Regions from separate parts of the Homo sapiens genome. Here regions 2 and 3 are each linked to region 1. Evidence: promoter capture Hi-C in 16 types of primary human blood cells and fetal thymus (Javierre and others, 2016). All regions are on one chromosome and are shown on one strand. Each heading gives the region's core, a stretch centred on a gene start or on the middle of the fragment in contact. The rest is flanking DNA. Distances are from core to core; before and after follow the strand shown.

Region 1 (3,803 bases), core at 695-3,194:
AAAGAAACAAAGATAAAGGCACTAAAAAAAAAAAAAAAAAAAAGCGGGCCAGGTAGGGTGGCTCGTATCTGTAATTCCAGTAATCTGGAAGGCCAAGGCCGGGGGATCACTTGAGGTCACGAGTTCAAGACCAGCCCAGGCAACATAGTGAGACCCCCATCTCTACCAAAAATAGTCAGGTGTGGTGGTGCACACCTGTAGTCCCAGCTACTAGGGAGGATGAGGTGGGAGGACTGCTTGAACCCAGGAGCTCGAGGCTGCAGTGAGCTATGATTAGGCCACTGCACTCCAGCCTGGGCAACAGAGCAAGACCTTGTCTCTTATAAATAAATAAATAAATGAGTCCCTGTCAAGAAGTTGGAGATGGGGAGGGGAACTCCTCACATACAAATAATTATATTGCATGCTGCACTGTAGTAAAAGGAGATATACTAGGCACAAGGGTACCAAAGCAATCCAGGGGAAAAAGGAAAGGTTGCCTGAAATAAGTAATACCTCAGTTTTAAAGGATAAGAGTTTATTTCCAGAGCGGGAAAAAATGCTGTTCCAGGCAAGGCTAGCTACTTATGTAAAAGGAGGGAAGAGTGATGCAACAAGGTGGTTTTGGGGACATACAATTCAGCATTGTCAGTCAAAGCCCCAAATATAAAACTACAGAAGGAAGCAGAGGGCAGATCACGCTTGACAGTATTTAACTGGGGAAGCTAGGGCTAGGTCCTATCTGACTTTGTCAGTAGCACCGCCTCTTACTTACAGCAATTACTTAATGTCTATTTATTCAGCAAACCATTAACATCTCCAGTGATTTCGGTTTTTGCCCTCTTCTGCTCACTCACCAGTCAAACAAAGAAGAGAACTAAGAAACTTGGCTACTAACCCCCTCTAACATGAGCATATTCGGAGTGATCTTGATATGGCGATTACTCCAATAACCTAATGGGTCTCCAGTTTTCATTCTCCAATTTGTTATCCACCACAGTAACTATGATTTTTTAAAGTGCACATCAGATTGTCATATTTCTGCTTAAAATGATCCAATGGCTTCCAACCGAATCATTTTAAATTGATTTGGAGTACAATCAAAACCTCCCAATACAGCCTAAGAGGTCCTGCCCAACGCCTGCTCCTCCGATACCATCTCTTAACCACTATTCGCGCAAGTGGCTATACCTTTCTGTCAATTTCTCCAAATGACCAAGCTTTCTTTCCGGCCGCAGGTCTTATGCTCCTATTCCCTGTGCTCGGTACACTCCTCCTCCTGCTCTTTAAAGGGTCGTATTTCATGACACTTAGGCTTCGAGTTAAATTCCACCTCCTAGGGAGGCCATCTCTGACTAAGCCTCTAATGTCTAACGCGCACCCTCACAGCCTCCTGTCTGCATTGTTCTTAGCACTTATTATTTGCAATTACATACTTGTTATTTTTTGACTAATGTCTGTCTTCCCCACCCAAGTGAGTTAATCTAGAGCATGGCCGTATCATTACTTTCACGGAATGAAAGTGAATTCTGGAGTGTGGTTAAGTGGGAAGTGCAAATTCTCTTTGACTTTTACCCCGACCCTATAGCCCCAACTAAGAATACCCCAGGCCCGGATTCAAACAAAGAGAAGAAGGCACGGGCACTCCTAGGAAAAGAAAGGCATCGGGAGGAGCACGCGCCTCAGAAACCTAAAAGCAGAGTGAAAGGAGCTGGCGACAGGGTGCGCGGCGCCTCACGCGGATGAATGGGAAACGCGCGAAGGAACCAGCAGGCCCCGCGAGGCTGGTCTCCCTCCTTCTCTTTCTCCCCGCTTCTCCCGCCGTTCTCTTTCTCCTTACCATCGTAACCACGGCCGAATGTTGCAGGCTACTCTCTGCCGACCAGGCCGCCGCCCGTCCCTCGTGACTACAGCAGGTACCGCAGGTCCCGAGCCGCAGTTTCAAGAGAAATGGCCGCCAAACAGGACTATGACCTTTCACCTCCCACCACGGCCCTTCCTGCCTCTGTGATTGGACGCAAAGAGGTGCGTGCTGATTGGAGGAGATGGCTGGCCCAGTATCTCCTAGCAACCAGCAGCGGCTTGGGTTTGCGCCTTGCAGGCGGCGCGCGGACCTTGGGAAACCGGCTCTGAGCATCGCTGTGAGGCAGCCAAGGACTGGAGGCAGGCCGGTGTTTTTAAATGTGGTGTCCTTCCTAGAGGGCGGTCTGGGAGAGGCTGTGTAACGGATGTGACTTCTCCCCAACTTGGCTAATGGGGATTTACTTTGTCTTTTTACACCCGTGAGAATGTTCGGGGTCCCAGAGTTCCTTCCTCACTCTTCCAACAGGTTCCATGATTTGGGGGCGCCTCTGCCGCAGGCCCTTTCTACCTGAGTGTTCTCTCTTCTGCAACACCCGTTTTAACCCCTTTTAAAGGAATTGGGGGCTAGCCAGACTAGACTAGGGGCGGCGAAACGCACTGAAGAGAGTTGGATACAGAATTTCTTGCAAACGAGGTCGAGTTGCGTCTGGGATACGGTGTCATGCCCCACCCCCGCCCCACGACCCTGCCGGCCCCACCTTTCTTTTGCTTCGCCTGCAGAAACCCGCACGGCCTTCATACGTGCATTTGAAATTACCTAAGGGCGTAAGCAATATTTCCTCTGTCACGGATTAAAACTTTCGATGTAACGGTGTTATCTGAATCTCACTAGTTTTTGTCGTAATCCTATTGAGTTCGGGTCACTCTGATCTGAAATGCTAAATGCAGTTCTTGGAGAACACGCCCTTTGGGAAGTAACGCTTTTTTGCGGCCCTGAAGAGATGGATTTGGAGTTGAGGATGAAATGTTGGGTGTTGAGGCATTGTGGAGCAGTGGGCAAGACTTTGGAGGGGGCCTGCATTCGGAACCTGCGTCTATCAGGCGCGGCCGGTGTTGGGCAGTGTCTTAACCCCGAGGGCCATTGTTTCCTCGGCAGGAACGCGGCTTTAAAAACGGAACCATCCTCAGGGTGGTTGCGAGAATTTAACGTAAAACGGGGCTTGGCCTTGTAAAAGCTCAGTGTTTCACGTAAATGTTGAACACTGACCAGACAATGATTGTCAGTGTAGTTTTTACCAAACAGTTATTAGATTTATTCACCCTAAACTTCAGTGGATTTCTCCGTTTGTCTATTGTTTTATGAACTTTAAGTCTTTGTATAGACTTTGAGTTCCTACTATGTGTCAGGCTTTTTCAACAATCGTGGAAATCTTACCTTACTGTCTGATTCGGGGTGACAGCCCCGTTTAAGAGATGAGGAAGTAGGCCCAGCAGGTAACTGTTACCAGTTGAGGGTAGCTGTCCGAGTTCTTGGCGTTTTCAACAAAGAATTGGACAAAACGCACAAACAAAGCAGGGCAGCGAAAGCAGAGATTTATTTTAAATGAAAGTACACTCTACAGGGTGGGCACCGCCTGGTGCAAGCGGCTCAAGAGCATTGGTTATAGAATTTTCTGGGCTTTAAATACCCTCTAGAGGTTGCCCATTGGCCCACAACCAGTCTGATTGGTTGCGGGAGGGGACCAATAAGAGGTACTTTCATTTTTCAACTGCCACGCAGAAAAAGGAGGGGTTGAAATGGGAGTAGCCTCTGATACCCAGTCAGCATGGATGGGCCCTAGGTTCCCTGCTTCCAGCCGCTATTCTTCTGCCTCATAGCTTGCTCAGGACCACATACCTGGGTTTCAAAACTCTGCTTTTTCTACTTCATGAAGCTACCTTTCAAAGACTCAATATGTGTTTTAGAAGCCTGACTCTTTAGCTGTTTTCTCAGTGAAGTGAAACGAAATACTACAGTAAAC
Region 2 (3,803 bases), core at 580-3,079, 2.8 Mb before region 1:
GTGTCTACGAAAAATTTTTAAATATTAGCCAAGTGTGGTGGCATTCGCTGTAGTCCCAGGTACTTGGGAGGCTGAGGTGAGAAGATAGCTTGAGTCTGGGAAGTCAAAGCTGCAGTAACCCATGATTATACCACTGTGCTCCAGCCTGAGAGACAGAGCAAGACCCTGTCTCTCTAAAATGTATGTATTATATGTGTTTTTTATGGGCAGATTCTATAATTATTATTTAAATAGTTGCCTCTTAGTTGCTCTTGTGAAATCTTTTGCTGCAAAAATTGAAGCAAATGTACTTTGGTTGCTGTTTATTGCAAAATATTTATTCATAGTAAATTTTGAAATAAAAATATATCCCCATAAGACATTTGTAAACATTTTCCAGATAAAAAGCAAGTATTTGGCATCTTAAAATACTTAAAAGCTCACTAGAATTTTGACAAAGCCATTGAGATCTTTACCACTAAAACACGTAATTCAGCATCTAAAAGTCGGTCTATCAAATCTTTATTAAATGCTTTCCGTACTGACACGGCCCTGGTGGTTAAAATACAAGTGCATATGTGTGCCTGTCTGTGTACTCTTAAATACTGCTTACTCTCACTCTTCATCTGATTAAGTTGGAGGGAAAAAATCTGAACCCTTCCACTGCCCAAGAAGGATTTCAAGGAATCACACTATATCATTGTCTTCAGACCATTTCCTATGTGGAAAGAAAAGAGAAATAATACATAAGAAACTTAAAAGTGTGTTGCTTTAATATCTTCTCTCTGCTAAATAAAGGCCTGATAGGCCAGGTGTGGTGGCTCCCACCTGTAATCCCAGCACTTTGGGAGGCCGAGTTGGGCGGATCTTGAGCTCAGGAGTTCAAGACCAGCCTGGGCAACATGGTAAAACCCTGTCTCTACAAAAAATACAAAAAATTAGCCAGGCATGGTGGCGCATGCCTGTAGTCCCAGCTACTTGGGGGGTTGAGGTTGGAGGATTGCTTGAGCCCCGGAATTTGAGGTTTCAGTGAGCTTTGATTGCACCACAGCACTCAGCCTGGGTGACAAAGTGAGACCCTGCAAAAAAAAAAAGGCCTGATATATCCTATGTCATCTTGACAATAAACACTGGAGATAAGTTGCCCAAACCCATATGGCTTGAGTGTCAGTTTGCATAGCTCTTTTCTAAACTCTTATAGAAATTTTTCAGGTAAGAATTGAGGTGATTCTACTTTCAGAAAGTTAAAAAGTTGTTAAATTACTAAACAAGACACAAAACCTGTCACTCATGCTTATTTAATTACATAGAAATTTAATCAGCTGGAATTTCCATTGTGAAAATTTTGTTTCTTATGGAAACTTCAATAGATTTTTTAATTGCTTTTTTGTTTTGTTTTGTTTTGTTTTGTTTTGTTTTGTTTTGAGAGATGGAGTTTTGCTCTTGTTGCCCAGGCTGGAGTGCAGTGGCGCAATCTCAGCTCACCGCAACCTCCACCTCCACCTCCCAGGTTCAAGCAATTCTCCTGCCTCAGCCTCCCGAGTAGCTGGGATTACAGGTGTGCGCCACCACGCCCAGCTAATTTTGTATTTTTAGTAGAGACAGGGTTTCTCCATTGGTCAAGCTGGTGTCAAACTCCCAACCTCAGGTGATCTGTCCACCTCAGCCTCCCAAAGTGCTAGGATTACAGGCGTGAGCCACCGTGCCTGGCCTAAATTGCCTTTATAAAAGTTTTTTATAGTATCTGTTATAATTATGTACAAAAAGTCAAAAGCTCTTTAAGCAAGTTGTATAACTCTGGTTTTTGTTTTAATTATCCAATATAATTTTCTCTATAAATCATACTGTAAAACCTTGGCTAACTCCATTTCCAGCTTTTTTCTTTGTGTTAGTAGAGTTTTATCTAAAAGACAAGGGTATAATTTAAATGTCCTGCTTCTTAAAAATGGAATATGGTCAAGGTTTTCTTGAAAACTAGGTATTGTGCTAAAACTGAGGCTATAGATGGTATGAAACATAGGGCTAAATGGGTACTGACCCTAATAGTGGCCCTGGAACTTCTTTCCTTGCAGAAGGTCCGTAACAGCTTCCTTTGGTTATTTGCCTCTTTTTCATTATTAAGCTGAAATAGAGCCAGAGGAAATCCTGAATTTGTAAGTCCTCAGTCAGCTGTCTGCCACCATTTAACGTTCCTAAAGGAGCTATTCAGAGGCAACACACACCATTAATTACCACCATGCACTGTAGGAAAATGTAAACCATTCATTATCACAGGACCCTAGATAGATCTGTATGAGGTCTCTATAGACTGCAATGGCTCATGAAGGAGTCAGGAAGATTCTTTTTGTAAGGCCTACGCTAAAAGTAGCCTGGGTCCCTTTCTCCTGTATCTCACTCTTCCACAAGGCCATATGATATGATAGTGAGAAGAGGCCCAAAAACGAGAGTTATTTTTATTTAGTGATTTATAAGTGGTCTAATCCATCTATTCCATCCTTCATTTGCCATAAACACAACCCAGTTTATACTTAGTGTTCAAAGGGGGACAGGCCTGGGGCTTCTATCAAGTGCAAGTGGTCGGGAACCCTGCTTCCCTTATGCAATCATAGGCATGTAGGAAGGATGGAAGAGTAGCTGCACAAAGTAGTCCAAAAGAAAGATAGCTGGTCTTGTTGATGGGCACCTGTAATCCCAGCTAGCTGGGAGGCTGAGGCAGAAGAATCACTTGAACCCAGGAGGCGGAAGTTGCAGTGAGCCGAGATCACACCACTGCACTTCAGCCTGGACAACAGAGTGAGACTCCATCTCCAAAAAGAGAAAAAAAAGGGGCCACAGTACTTAAAGGAAATAGCTGATGTGCTATGGCTCTATTGTTCCAGGAGCTTTTATAAATAGCAATAACTAATGTCTACAATAACTCGGCCAGGCATGGTGGCTCACACTTATAATCCCAGCATTTTAGGAGGCCAAGGCGAGAGGATCGCTTGAGCCCAGGGAGTTTGACCTGCAGTGAACTATGATTGTGTCACTGTAGACCTCTTCCTCTTCAGCTGCCTCAAAAAACGAACAAACAAACAAAATAGCCAGATCTCCTCTCTACAGAATTTTTTTTTTTAATTAGCCAGTGGTGGTAATGTACCTGTGGTCCTAGCTACTTGAGAGGCTGAGGTGGGAGAATCACTTGAGCCCAGGAGTTCAAGGCTGCAGTAAGCTATGATCAGGCTACTGTACTCCAGCCTGGGTAACAGAATGAGACCTTGTCGAAAAACAAACTACAACCCTATGAAGTATTGGCTGGGTGCTCTGGCTCACACCTATAATCCCAACAGTTTGGGAGGCCAAGGCAGGAGGATCACTTGAGCCCAGGAGTTCAAGACAAGACTGGGCAACATAGGAAGACCCCCATCTCTATAAAAAATTAGCCAGGCATTATGGCACACGCCTGTGTTCCCAGCTACTCAGGAGGCTGAGGGGGTAGGATGGATTGGGCCTGGGAGGCTACAGTGAGCCATGATCACACCACTGCACTCCAGCCTGGGAAATAGAGTGAGATCTTGTCTTTAAAAAATAAGATTAAAATAAGGTATTATCCCCACTTCACAGATGAGGAAACATCAAAGTTATTTAACTTGCCCAAAGTGGTTATACAGCTTAGTAAATGGCAGAGCTAAGGCAGTCCAGTCACCCACCTAATCAGTATGATTCGTTGCCTCCATTCGATATTAATCCCCAACAAAAGGCCAAGATCCTAGAAATAGAAATCCCCAAGTCCAGAATTACTTATAGTTCTTTTCTTCCTTCTACTTGAAGGTATACCCTTTAGC
Region 3 (3,803 bases), core at 568-3,067, 2.6 Mb before region 1:
ATCCTATGAGTTTGCTATAATAATTTTCTCCTTTTTACAGTGAGGAAACTGAGGCACTGGAAGATGAAGGCTACAGAGGTAGAAAGTGATGGAGGTATGTGCAGAATACTACGGGATTACAGAGAGGGAAGGGCTGGAGTGGTCAAAGAAAGACCTATTTTTAGCTGGGCCACCAAAGAATGATGATGAACTTAGAAAAAGAATGGGGGAAATGTTTTCCAGCACTTAGGGAACAGAGAAACATTAATACAAAGGCTCAGAGCATGTGGCAATTTGGGAAAAGTGGCAATGCGGGAAAGAGTATATGGTGGAGGGGCTGCTGCTTAGGGGACTGGAGTGGCAGGGGGCAGGAAATGTCTTCACCTTTCATTATAATGCATGACTGGGGAGAATTAAACATCACAATCTTTGAGGAACTGACAGGAACCTTACCTATCTTCTTGATCCTTTCGTTATACAGATAAGGAAACTGAGGCCAGACAGCTCCAGTGATTTAACTAAATTCCTGTGGCCGAGAACATCACCTTTATCTGTTGCTGTAAATTAAGGAATCTGTGGGCTTAGTGATTAGGTGTCCCTCAGAGGTTTTCAGGGCCTCAGATCTTGCCATCACTTTCCTTAGAGTTATCTGTTCCTGGGCTGGCCTAAGCTTCCTGTCCTTTAAGGAACCTGCCTGCCAACATTGGCCCCAACCCAACAGGAGATCAGTGACCTCCGTTTTCCTGACTTTTTTCCTGCCCTACTGACCACCTGCTGACCTATCCCGGTTAATAGCTTTACTGATCTGTCTAGCTTTGAGGCAAACACTAGCCCCAGTGTGAGGAACAAAGGGTCCTGGTGACCCACACCCCCTGGCCCTTTGGCATTCAGTCCTCAGGCTACCCAGAAGGACAAATTATTCAGCCTGTTTGGGGTGGGATGGAACAGTTTCTACTTCTTTTCTTTGGATTTTTTTTTTTTTTTTGAGACCCGTCTCACTCTGTCACCCAGGCTGGAGTGCAGTGGTGTGACCTTGGCTCACTGCAACCTGCGCCTCCCAAGTTCAAGCAATTTTCATGCCTCAGCTGCCCGATTAGCTGGGACTACAGGTGCGGGCCACCATGCCTGGCTAATTTTTGTATTTTTAATAGGGATAGGGTTTCACCATGTTGACCAGGCTGGTCTCAAATTCCTGACCTTGTGATCCGCCTTGGACTTCCAAAGTGCTGGGATTACAGGTGTGAGCCACTGCGACAGGCCTTTTCTTTAGTCTTTCCGTGTTTTCTAAACACAAAGCAACAGAAAAACTTCTGCTTCAAATGCATGACTCAGGTCTGGCATTCAAGTTGCTGCTATTTTGGGAAAAAAGCTGCCTGTAGCTTTTGAAATTTCTTATTCTCCTACCTGTGATTAACTCATATGATTAGCAAAGTTTTATTATCAGAATTTATCAATAAAATGAAGTTAGTGATCTAGAAAATAAGAAGAGAACCAGCACAAAATAGCACGCAGAATCCCATTTTTTTTCTATGCATTTGTAAGTACTGGAAACGTCTGGTGGCTGGGTGCGGTGGCTCATGCCTGTAATCCCAGCACTTTGGGAGGCTGAGGCGGGAGGACCACTTGAGGTCAGGAGTTCGAGACCAGGCTGGCCAACAGAGTGAAACCCCGTCTCTACTAAAAATACAAAAATTAGCTGGGCGTGGTGGTGGGTGCCTATAATCCTAGCTACTCGGGAGGCTGAGGCAGGAGAATCACTTGAATCTGGGAGGCGGAGGTTGCAGTGAGCCTAGATCGCGCCATTATACTCCAGCATGGGGACAGAGTGAGACTCCGTCTCAAAAAAAAAAAAAAAAAAAAGGAAGAAAGAAAGAAGAAAACATCTGGAAAGAAGTAGCTGAAGATATTAAAAGTAGTTATATCTGGGTTAAGAGTGTGTTGATGATCGCTGTTCTTTTTGCTATTCCACCTTTTCTAAATTTTCTACTATGTGCATATATTGAACTCAGAAAAGCAAACAATAAAATTTTCTTTAAAGTTATTAATATTAGGCAAAGCAAATAGCTCAAATGTACATTTGTGATAGTCCTCTTAGCCTATGACATGTTGAGTAATGTATTCTAGTTTGGTTTTCCTTGTTAGCCAGATTTCATTATTTTGCAGCTTAAGTTGTTTATTTCTAGTTCCTTAAGGTGGGGAGGAGGTGAGGAGGTGAGGAGGGTGAAGAAGCAAATTCCACTTCAGTAAAACAGGGCGTGCAGCCTTTTCCCCTGAGTCCCTTTGTCTCAAGGCCCCTGTGTTCCGGGTCTTTTGTTGTTCTCTGCATGGACTTTGATTCGAGATTTAAAGAAAAACAAGTGCTGGCCCTCCTTGCGCCCTCTGGTGTCCCAGTGAGGTATAACCGGACAAACCGCACAAAGATCACAGCCATTTTCACACAGCGCTCCCCCGACACAGTGATGCCTGGAGACGGGAATGTCTGGAATCTTAGAGGAAGGAATCACACACCGACAAGCATGGCAGGCTTAGTCTTTGAAACTTAATCAGAGCCTGTAAGTATGGATACTGTTTTTTAAAAAATTAAAAGCAGTATCTGGACTGCAAGTATTTAAAAAACCTAATAGGAAATAAGTCAACTCTCAAAGCATTTGGCACAGCTTTCTGGGTTCTAAAACTAAGAAAATCTTACTACATATGTTGTTTTATAAATACAGCATAAACCAGTACTTTGTTATTTGTTTTAAAAATTTCTTTTAGAGACAGGGTCTTGCTCTGTCACCCAGGCGGGAGAGCAGTGGTGCAATCTTAGCTCACTGCAGCCTTGAATTCCTGGCCTCGGGTGATCCTCCATGCTTCCGCCTCCCAAAGGACTGGGTTTACAGGTGTGAGTCACTGTGCCTGGCCTAGAACTTTGGATTAATTGCAAATAAATTAGGTGAAAGAGAGGTCTGGATACCTAGGCTTTAGCTTGACTGAGGATAATGATTTCCGCAACTTTAAGCTTTACCATGTAGACCAAAAATAAAATTCTAAGCTCCCCAATCAGTTGAATGGATGCCTCCTTGTCCAGGGGCATTCCAAAGTTACCTGAAACGCTAGTTCATGTCATGATGGGAACAGGTGGTCAGACAAGCCTCATTATACTCTCCTCCCTTTGGGACAGAGTCCCTTTGGGATTCAGGCACATCTGACCAGCATTAACATAAGTCTGACAAAGAAGGCTTTTTGTAGCAGTAAGATACCAACATGACAGACAGCAGGCCCTGAAGTAAATTGAAGTAGTTTACCCCAAAAAATATATATATATTTTTGACACATTTTGAAATGGCCCTGCAAAGGTGTCTCTTGTGGGGAAAATCTACTTTCAGTAGAGAATCCCCTTCCCTTTCCAGATATTTTTCCTTAACCAGGAGAGAATTTACTGAGAGTCTTGCACCTTAAAAAGGTAAAAAATAAAATTTTTGGCTGGGCATGGTGACTCACGCCTATAATCCCAGCACTTTGGGAGGCCAAGGCAGGTGAATCACCTGAAGGTCAGGAGTTCGAGACCAGCCAGGCCAACATGGTGAAACCCCATCTCTGGCTAATACAAAAATTAGCCAGGCATGGGGTGGGGGTGTGGGCGCCTGTAATCCTAGCTACTTGGGAGGCTGAGGCAGGAGAATTACTTGAACCTGGGAGGTGGAGGTTGCAGTGAGCCGAGATCACACCATTGCACTCCAGCCTGGGCAACAAGAGCGAAACTTCGTCTCAAAAAATAAAATAAAATAAAATAAAATAAAAAAAATAAATAAAAATTAAAAGTTTTACAATCTGACCTGGTG

Evidence for each region. Contacts are between HindIII fragments. The CHiCAGO score rates a contact against its expected background, and 5 or more counts as called.
Region 2: a contact is called between a fragment that was not itself captured here and the fragment with the promoter of SNRPF in region 1, in 1 of 17 cell types (fetal thymus). The highest score is 5.6, in fetal thymus.
Region 3: a fragment that was not itself captured here is called in contact with the fragment with the promoter of SNRPF in region 1 in 1 of 17 cell types (activated CD4 T cells); the score reaches 7.5 in activated CD4 T cells.

What each region holds. Positions count from the first base shown.
Region 1 is chr12:95,857,093-95,860,895 of GRCh38, reverse strand. SNRPF (small nuclear ribonucleoprotein polypeptide F) reads right to left here and starts at 1,944. Exons shown (of 4, transcript NM_003095.5): 1 at 1,820-1,944. The coding sequence starts at 1,822. It overlaps SNRPF-DT (SNRPF divergent transcript), which reads left to right and starts at 2,057. Exons shown (of 3, transcript NR_135014.1): 1 at 2,057-2,142. RefSeq lists enhancers at 1,622-1,671, 1,702-1,931, 2,052-2,111, 2,162-2,221, 1,620-2,235. The HindIII fragment of the contact is 4,587 bases long and covers 1,202-3,803 here.
Region 2 is chr12:98,638,043-98,641,845 of GRCh38, reverse strand. The region is part of intron 1 of IKBIP (IKBKB interacting protein); the gene reads left to right. Among named protein-coding and RNA genes, the nearest start is that of IKBIP, 4.8 kb to the left of the region's middle. The HindIII fragment of the contact is 4,214 bases long and covers 1-3,803 here.
Region 3 is chr12:98,489,722-98,493,524 of GRCh38, reverse strand. It overlaps LINC02453 (long intergenic non-protein coding RNA 2453), which reads left to right. Exons shown (of 4, transcript NR_038383.1): 3 at 41-94. Among named protein-coding and RNA genes, the nearest start is that of TRD-GTC1-1, 12 kb to the left of the region's middle. RefSeq lists a silencer at 2,700-2,994. The HindIII fragment of the contact is 2,331 bases long and covers 652-2,982 here.